Linked DNA regions of Homo sapiens: all the other regions are linked to region 1. Evidence: promoter capture Hi-C in 16 types of primary human blood cells and fetal thymus (Javierre and others, 2016). All regions are on one chromosome and are shown on one strand. The core of a region is centred on a gene start or on the middle of the fragment in contact, and the rest is flanking DNA. Distances in the headings are between cores, read along the strand shown. Region 1 holds the start of ELOVL7 (ELOVL fatty acid elongase 7). Region 2 overlaps ELOVL7 (ELOVL fatty acid elongase 7). Region 3 overlaps ELOVL7 (ELOVL fatty acid elongase 7).

The links. Contacts are between HindIII fragments. The CHiCAGO score rates a contact against its expected background, and 5 or more counts as called.
Region 2: a fragment that was not itself captured here is called in contact with the fragment with the promoter of ELOVL7 in region 1 in 1 of 17 cell types (megakaryocytes); the score reaches 8.2 in megakaryocytes.
Region 3: a contact is called between a fragment that was not itself captured here and the fragment with the promoter of ELOVL7 in region 1, in 1 of 17 cell types (megakaryocytes). The highest score is 6.4, in megakaryocytes.

What each region holds. Positions count from the first base shown.
Region 1 is chr5:60,842,822-60,845,917 of GRCh38, reverse strand. ELOVL7 (ELOVL fatty acid elongase 7) reads left to right here and starts at 1,649. Exons shown (of 9, transcript NM_024930.3): 1 at 1,649-1,758. RefSeq lists silencers at 1,428-1,727, 1,748-1,907, 1,918-1,977. The HindIII fragment of the contact is 2,652 bases long and covers 423-3,074 here.
Region 2 is chr5:60,765,606-60,768,860 of GRCh38, reverse strand. ELOVL7 (ELOVL fatty acid elongase 7) reads left to right here. Exons shown (of 9, transcript NM_024930.3): 5 at 958-1,038; 6 at 2,231-2,287. Among named protein-coding and RNA genes, the nearest start is that of DEPDC1B, 67 kb to the right of the region's middle. The HindIII fragment of the contact is 1,390 bases long and covers 794-2,183 here.
Region 3 is chr5:60,749,687-60,752,715 of GRCh38, reverse strand. ELOVL7 (ELOVL fatty acid elongase 7) reads left to right here. Exons shown (of 9, transcript NM_024930.3): 9 at 1-925. Among named protein-coding and RNA genes, the nearest start is that of DEPDC1B, 51 kb to the right of the region's middle. The HindIII fragment of the contact is 6,191 bases long and covers 1-3,029 here.

The DNA.
Region 1 (3,096 bases), core at 400-2,899:
CCTCGGCCTCCCAAAGTGCTGGGATTACAAGCGTGAGCCACTGCGCCTGGCTGAACACTACATTTTTTTTACTTCTTTATTCATGTATTGTCTGTCATCTCCAACTAGAATGAACGTATAGTCCCTGAGAACGGGGAATTTGTTATCTATTGAAACTTCAGGGCCTGGAACATAGCAGCACTCCAGTATTTGTTAAATAAATGAATCCATTTGAGCTTCTGCATATTTGAAATTTCATAAGTATATATAAATGGTAAATTGTGATAGACTCAAAGGCTAGTATCATTAGGCAATTGTCTCCCGTTCCCAAAAGACTTCCTAAGTCTACTAAATGATCTGTTTTTAATATGAAAGCAAAGTTATCTAAAAGAAAGGAGAAATCTTTAGTTTTTTTGACTTCGAGATTCTTTGCAATTTAAGCTTTTTTTTTTTTTTTTTTTTTTTTTTTTGCTTTTCTTTCAATGGACACTTTCGAAGTTTTACATAAAAACATTAAAACCTCTTGTTTAATGTAGTGGGATTAAGCTGCCGAAGGCAATCCCTACATGTGAGGAAAATATGCTTCCGACACCCCAATTTTTTTTTTCTCCCTACCCATCCTCTCTGGTGGTCCTGACGCTCCCAGCCCCTTTTTGTGTTTCTTGATTCCATGCTGAGAACTCGCAATACAAACTCAAAGCCCACATTTGTGAGGTGGTTGGGTCAGGACTGCAACTAAAAATGATTATTGTTTTTTAGGTTTCTGGACAGTTCAACACCAGCCTTTGGTTTTGCCTCAGAAGCAGGGAACTTCTCTAGGCCCCTATTTTGCCTTTCAGCTATTGATGATCCAAATCATACCAGCGATTAGGAGGATCATTACCAGACACAAGGCCAGGTACGTTTAAAAAATAAATAAACCAAGCGCAGGTGCACACTCCGAACGCTCATCCCCACCCCCACTTTCCAATCCAACAGTAGGTAACGAGAAATGAATTTTCTAGACTTTTTTTCCTGCAGCAGTTGCTGTTACCAGAAACAAAGTTAGATGATATACAATCTAATCTTCATTGCTCTAAAAGTCCTCTCCCCATGCCCCCCAGGCTGCCTCAATTCTCTAGTTTCTTATTCCTTATAAGCAGGGGATGGAGCTGAACCAAGTCGGCCTTCCCCTCCCAGGGCCTTCTCCTCTTGGTCTGGCTTCCATTTCAGATGCGAATTAACCCTCCCAATACCCTTTCAGAAGCAAGGAGTCCCCTTTTTCTCCGCCTCCAGCCTCAGCTAGGTTTTCCTCATTTCGGATTTTTCTACTGCTCATTCCCAAATGAGTCACGCATGACGACAATTTCCACTCTGCTATGTCAGCCTGGAGATGTCCCCCAAGTGATGGCATCTGCTCTCGGAAAGAAAGGTCATCGGTGCCACGACCAGCCCCGCTAACCCAGAGCGGCCGGTGGGCCCCAGTCCCGAGAGTCAGGGCGCGCGGCGGAGGCGAGGCCGGGGCGGCCTCCGCCCTCCCGGCCGCTCCCCCTCGCGCCGCCCCGGCTCCTCCCTCCGGCCCTCGGCGGGCACCTGGCGGCGGCGGGCAGGGGGCGGCGCTGCGCGCGTCACGCGGCTGGGTGGGATAGCGGGCAGGTGACACCCGGCGGCCTCCTCCCCTTTCCAACCCAGTCGGCGGCCGGGACAGCGGGGGCCGCTGTGAGGAGCTCCGCGCTCGCGCTGCCAGTCGCCGCCCTCTCTCCCGCGCGCGCCCGGCGCTTCGGCTCCGCTCCCTGTGCGGTGAGTGCGGGGTTCCAGGCCGGCGGGCAGGGGCCAAACTTTCCCGGCGCGCGGAGGAGAAGAGACTGGGGAGGGAGGCAGAGCCGAGGGGAACGGCGTCGGGAGTGGCCGGATGGAGGAACTTGGGCGCGGCGCGCGAGAAGTGGGACCCGGGTGCGGGGGCCCCGGGAGCGGGGCCAGGCCCTCCCTGGGCTCGGGAGGCGCTTGGGAAGTTCTGTCCCCGCTGCCTGCGCGTGGGGAGGACCGAGGCCCTTTTCGCCGGAGCGCGGGGCCGCGGCGCTCACCTGCGCCTTCTCGGGAGCCCCCACCCGGCAGCATCCCGAAGGGAAGGTCGGGCCCGGTGGGCGCGCTGCGGAGCGGAGCCTGGACTGGGGTCCCGCGCGGCGCTGGCCCTGCGGAGCGGAGCGGGAGGGGCAGAGGTGCTCGCCGGCGGGACTGGGAGGGAGAAGGACCTGCTCGACCTTGGACGCGGAGGTCATTTTCCCAGCTCCGGGGTCTGGCCTCGCTAGCCACCCCCCCAAATTCCGGAGCCCCTTTCTTTCTGTTTCCTTCCTTCCCCTTTGGGCGCTTTTTTTGCTCCCGCGGCCAGATGAACTTGGGGCGCTGTCCCTTCGGCTCCCCGAGCCGCATCCTGTCTTGGTGGCTGCTGCTGGCCGGGAGGAGGCTGATGAATACAGAGCCGTGGAACAGGTCGTGCCGGAGATGGAAACAGGAAAGCCTGTTGTTTTGTCGTCCCAGGTATCGTTGGTTCTTTGGGAAATGGGCTTTCCCAGGTTCGTTGGGAAATGGGCTTTCCCAGGTTCGTTGGGAAATGGGCTTTCCCCCTTCAAGTCAGAGCTGTTTCAAACTTCACCCGGTGCGGACAGAGCGCTCTTTGGAGCTCCCTGGGGAACTCGGGACGGGAAGGAGCGGGTCTTTACACCTGTCCTGCTCCCAGTGTAGTTAGTCCCGCGTCGACTGAAGAACAGTTTTAGCGACCCGAGTTCCTCGCCAGTGGTCTTTTCCCTCTTGCTACGATCTCCCCTCGGAAAGCATGTTCACTTAACCCTGTGCTCTCGGATTACCCTTTATTTCATTCCTCACTTTTATTGCTTACGTGCTCCGAAAGGGTCATCGATACCTGGTGGCTGCCTCTGCGTTCTTACCACGCACCCGCTTATTCATTCCCTTTCTTTGTAGTTTCTCTTCGTACTACTGATCAGAAATTGGTCTCCCCAAGGTCACCGAGAACTAAATAAAATCCACCCCTCACCCCGTGGCAGACATTTATCAGTGCTTAGGTGCCAGGCACTGATGTCAGTTCTTGTGTAAAAGCTTTTAATCTTCACAACGATCCTG
Region 2 (3,255 bases), core at 239-2,738, 77 kb after region 1:
ATGGTTCAATGGCAGAAAAGGATATAACCATTATACTGAGAGAGAAGATCTCCCAGGGGGTATTTGGCATGTATGAGAAGAACTGATCATATTGTCAGTGCCCTAAATTAAGCCAACAATTTCATATATGTGTTAAGTTAAAATCAGAGCCCTTGGCTTTTCCTTTTCAGATACTGTTTTAAAAGAAGACCTTCCCACCATCAGACTGAAAGAATGTCAGTATAATCTTTATAATCTTTGAATTACACTTCAGATTTATCAACAATAGGCTCTTTCTTGTCACATCAGCCTTGGATCACTTTGTGGGTGTGTTGGAATTAAGGCCTGCCAGATTGCACTTTTATTGTTAACGAGCATTTTCCTCTTTTACTTGTCTTGTGAATCCACAGTAAAACTATTAATAATATCTGAGCCATGGACTACCACCTCACATCACACTCACCAGCCAATGATGGGAAAAGCCCAGTTGTCGCAGCTATCTTATGAGTACATTGAGGCATTTTGGTTTGCATGTTTAGTTATTGACTAAGTAGAAAGACTGGAAATTGCTAGAAATGACTGATTCAGATCCAAGTGTTCCCTTTAAGAGTACACAAACACATTCACTCACACATACATAGATGAACCTAAGATAAGTCACCTACCAGTATTTGCTGTTTAAGCAAAACACTCCAAGTGTTTTATTCTTCACCATATTAGAATAATCATCCCAAGAGATGAGCATTTTAGTCAGAGCACAGTTTATATAAATAATATATGAGTTTGTGGTTTTGAAAATTCTTGATATCAAGCTTTGATATCAAGCATGTTCATTTTGTATTTGTTCCAGCTACCTTTTCCTCTGCACTGACTATTGACTTAGCTGAAAATGTAATGAAGAGACACTATCAAAACTACCTTTGTTGTGGCTGTTGGGAAAATGCTTTCCTTTCTTAATATGCATGTGCTCTCTTGCAGTTTGTGATGTCTGGCTGGGGTATAGGTTATTCATTTCGATGTGACATTGTTGACTATTCACGGTCACCCACAGCTTTGAGGGTAAGTTTCTCTTTGGAAAAACTTGAAATTCAAAATCAATGTTAAAATTTTGTGAACTGTTTGTAACACTGAACGTAAACTTAGAATAAGCAGATGACTCAGTTATCAGATTGTGTGTGTTGTGGTGGAGAAAGTGAACAATTACAAGAATAAAAAAAATCACATGTATAATTTTCTATAAAATGAAAATTGGTGCTTTTCTTTTTTAATTTCTTGGATTTAAAAATAAATTCACATGTGGTTCCTCAAAAAATTGAAAATAGAATTACCATAAGATCCAGCAATTCTGCTTCTGGGTATATACCTAAAAGAATTGAAAACAGAGACTTGAAGAGATGTTTGTATACTCATGTTTACAGCAGCATTATTTATAACAGCCAAAAGGTAGAAGCAACCCAAGAGTCCATGGATAGATAAATGGATAAACAAGGCCAGGTGCAGTGGCTTACGCTTGTAATCCTAGCGCTTTGGGAGGCTGAGGCGGGTGGATTGCCTGGGCTCAGGAGTTTGAGACCAGCCCGGGCAACACGGTGAAACCCCATCTCTACTAAAATACAAAACTTAGCAGGGCATGGCAGCATGGGCCTGTAGTCCCAGCTACTCGGGAGGGTGAGGCAGGAAAATCGCTTGAACCCAGAAGGTGGAGGTTGCAGTGAACCGAGATTGCACCATTGCACTCCAACCTAGATGACAGAGTGAGACTCCATCTCAAAAAAAGAAAAAGATAAATGGATAAACAAAATGTGGCATATGTATAGAATGGAATATGATTCAGCCTTTAAAAGGAAGGGAATTCTAACTCATGCTACAACAGGGATGAACCCTGAGAACACTATGCTAAGTGAAATAATTAGGTCACAAAAGGACATATACTGCATGATTTGGCTTATATGAGGTGCCTAGCATAGTCAAATTCATAGACACAGAAAGCAGAATTGTAGCTGGGGTTAGAGAGGGAGAATGGGATGTAGTTTAGTGGGTGTAGCTTCAATTTTGCAAGATGAAAAAAGTTCTATGGATGGATGGTGGTAATGGTTGAACAACAGTGTGAAGGTACTTAATGCCACTTAACTGTGCACTAAGAAATGGTTGACATGACAGATTTTATGGTATGCATATTTTACCAAAATTTAAAAATATAAGCTTTTCTTCCATATACAAAATAAATTTAGATTTATTTGTGCTTCTGCAGATGGCACGTACCTGCTGGCTTTATTACTTCTCCAAATTTATTGAGCTATTAGATACGGTGAGTATATGGCCACCACATTTGGTAAATGTTTGATCTTAAATGTTTGATCTTAAATGTTTGATCTTTCAGTGAAACCAATAAACTGCTGTAGTTTCAGTTGTCTGATAACTTTGGTTATTTCTCCTATTCAGGCAGACCTACTGTTATCTTTTTTACCTTTTATTATCAGTAACTTTAGAGAATAGATAGGATAACCTTATTTTTTCAGTATTTTGCAAACTCTATAAAGTTTCTGTTACATAGCTATCAGTTGATTATGATAAGCATGGTGACTGTGTCATATACTCCAAAACTGCATCTTTATATAGATGGATGACAGTTGTTTTATGAATCAAGTTCAGGAAGTAAAAAGCAGAAAACATCTTACCTTTGTTTGTTTGTTTTTTTATCCCAAAGCACAGTCATCCATATTCCTTTAGGAGGATGAATAAACTTTCACGAGAATGTTGCATTACCCCTGGGCTGTCGGTAATTCAGCTGCTTTTCTGAAGTCTGTGCTTACTGGGCCCTATCTCTTCCTACTTCAGATCCTAGTGAGGATCGCCTCTGAACTTGGATGACCGGGTCTTGGGAGAAGCACGTGTCACAAATTAGCGTCTGTGATTTAGAGGAGAAAGCCATGAACCTTTGTTTCCAGAGGAGCTTAGGAAAGCTGAATATTTGTTGTATCTTTGCAGCAAGTGTATCTTAGTTATTTGGAGCTAGTTTTGGCTCAGACTGAAAAGTGTGTTTTCTTTGGAATGCATACCATGATATTTCTTGTAGGAAATCTCAATATGCTTCACCTTTTGAAATGACTAATCACATAATGTTAGAATTGGAAAGGACTTGTGTGAACATACAATCCAGTGGTTCTCGAACTTTAACATGCATTTAGAATCACCTGAGACTTGTTAAAACACAGCTGCCTCGACCCCCACCCCCAGAGTTTCTGATTCACTAGGCCTTGGATGGGGCTCAAAATT
Region 3 (3,029 bases), core at 96-2,595, 93 kb after region 1:
CTCCCAAAGTTCTGGGATTACAGGGGTGAGCCACTGTGCCCGGCCATAATTTTATATTTTTAGAAAATAAAGAATGAAGGACAAAAGAGCACAGCTAAATGAAACTGCTGCTCTAATTTATTCCACTGGAAAGGTCTCAGGACTCCTTAACTGTTTTCCAGGTTTGGCTCTTCATATCTAACCTGTGCTAAAATGAGAAGGTATGCTAGGTGCTGTTAGAAATCACACCATTTCCAAAGAACCCAAGTAGTATAGAGACCAAAATGAGGCAAAAATAAAAGAGATGAAACAGGAGAGTTTATTTCTTGCATACTTTCCGACCTTCATCATACAACCTCTCCTAACCTCCCTGTAGTCTTTAAAATGTTTAACTTGCCTATAAGCTAACATGTAATAAAACACATACTCAATTATATGAATAGAAGTGGAGAGCCAGAATGCTACAAAAGAAATCACAGCTGCTAGAAGTATCCTCCATAGAAACATCAACATGATTGTGGATCAAAATGATTTTCACTGGATATGGAATTTGTATGGGCCATATTTATTAAAAGAGTTCTGTGTGGTCACATAGAGTTCCTTTGGGATTTCATCCCACTTTTCAGGACTTAATTTGTTTGGGTTTGCTTACCTAACAAGCAACAACAACAACAAAATAAATAGTTCCAAAATCTAGTTTATTACATAAATCTCTATGAATCCTTGAGGGCCTATATCTATATTATAAATAAATACAAATATAGATTTTTAAATATCTATGGGACTTTGCCATTTACAGCCTTAAGTATAAAATTACGAGATTATATTCTTTCCATTACCCTTTATTTCTGCTAACTTTTTAAAGACTGGAACATTCTGTGGATGTTGTCAAAGTTTGAGTTTGTTTTTCCCTGTGTATTATAATAAATTTGTGGTATTGCATGTATACGTGTGTATATTTTTCATTTTGGAATCTAGCTGCATGTATTTGCATGGGTTGGTGACTTTTAATTTGAATACTCACCAATCAAAGTTATTTTACATATTTCTTGTATACGTGCTGTGTTCATCTTTGGGATACAAAGATACTTAGAACATAATTGGGATCTCCTGGAGCTTACCAACTGGCAGATGAAATTATGTGACAGGGCAGTAGATGATAGGTGCCAGATGAGTGACAGTTCTGCCACTTAGCAGACAGGGAAGACTCTATGAAGGAATTTGAATTTGAGTTATGTGTTTAGGTTGTACAGAATTTCAAAATTGGTGGTATGTTAGTAGGCAAGGTTTTTTAAGTGGAAAGAATTAACAAAAAAGAATATTTTGCCATCCCCACTGTCTCTAATAAATGGGACTAGCTAATGATCACTGGTTGCTAAAACAATTAGATGAAAGGTTGATGGGGATGGCTTGTGCTGATATGACTGAACCCAGTGATCAATCTTAATATCATTCAAAGTGGGACAACCAGATGTTTTGTCTCATAATACACTATAATACTCTGAGGTATTCGTGGCAAAAAAATTTTTGAACTTGAATCTAATAAATCCTCTGTATCTAAACTACTAGTTACAGGAAATACAATATATAAGAGTTAAAAGACACAAAAAGGATACCATCAGCCAAGTCCAAAATGTAGGAAATTCCATAGAACAAATGACCTGGTTTCTTCAATAAATAAATGACATTAAAAAAAAAAAAAGAAAACCAGAGAAGGCAACTTTTGTAGATGAAAGACTTAAGATATACTAACCAAATGTCATTTGAATCCTGATTTGAACAAACCAAATCATAAAAGGACATTCTTATAACAATCAGATATAACTGAACATGAACTAAATTTTAAAAGACAAACTATTAATATTAGATATTATTACTGTATTGCAGATGTATATATTTTAAAGTCCTTATATGTGAGATACATACACTGAAGTATGTATATGTAAAATGATAGGTTGTCTGATTTCGTTTTAACATACTCTAGTAAAAAGAAAAGGGGGTGTTGATAATTGTTAAAGTTGGGTAATGGGTTCACTTAATAAGAGTTTATTATACTCTTCTGTCTACGTTTGTGTATGTTTGAAATTGTCCAGTTTTTAAAAAGCAATGTATGTATTATAATGTTCTGTATAGATGTTATTTAAGTTAGGAACCAAAATGACAGAATTGACATGATTTTCACTGGTAGTCAGTCAGTATTGAGGGTGCTTACTGCATCTAAGTGTCATGAGAAACTTTAAAATGTACTGGATGTGGTCCCTGCCCTTAAAAAATTTACAGTACAGTTTAAAAAGACAGGCCTACATCAAATTTTAATAAAAACAAAAGTGGCATACCTGTTGACAAGTGAAAAGTGTATTACAGATTTGCAATATATATTATCCTAAAATTAAGTAGTTACCTTTGATGAAACAAAATATAATGTTCACCAGGACCCACTGAAGATGTTTGATGGAGGAGTAACATGATCAGCCTGGTTATGAGAGCCTCTGGAAAAGAATCCCTTCCATGGAGCCCGAGGCTCCCTGTCACCAGCATTTTCCAGTATTTCCTTCTTGTAGGAAGCAGTTGGGTGTAATAGACTGTAGTTATTGTCTGTCATTCCAAAGCATCATGCCATGTAGCTAAGTACTCTGGGGAAGGGCAGGGATACAGAGAAAATCTGCATATACCATATACCACCAGGGAAGAAGATGTCTTTGTATGCCTTCTTGGGTACCAAATACAATAGAGTCTAGGTCTGTTTCCTTCTAAAGGACTTTCCCAGGAGTCCCACACAACAACTTCCACTTACATCTCAATGGTCAAAACTGCCTCATGGCCATTTCTGGCTGCAGGAGAAGCTGTGAACTAATTTTCTAGATGGGCACATTGTCATCTCCAACAAAATTAGATTCTATTAGTAAGAAAGAAGGTAAGATGACGTTTGAGTAAGCACCTGATGTAACCTCACCCACTGAGAATCCATCACCATGATGGGCCATTATTTTGCACAGAAGTACATATAATTCTTCAAGTGTCTAAATGGAAAAGTGATTGAACACTCTTAT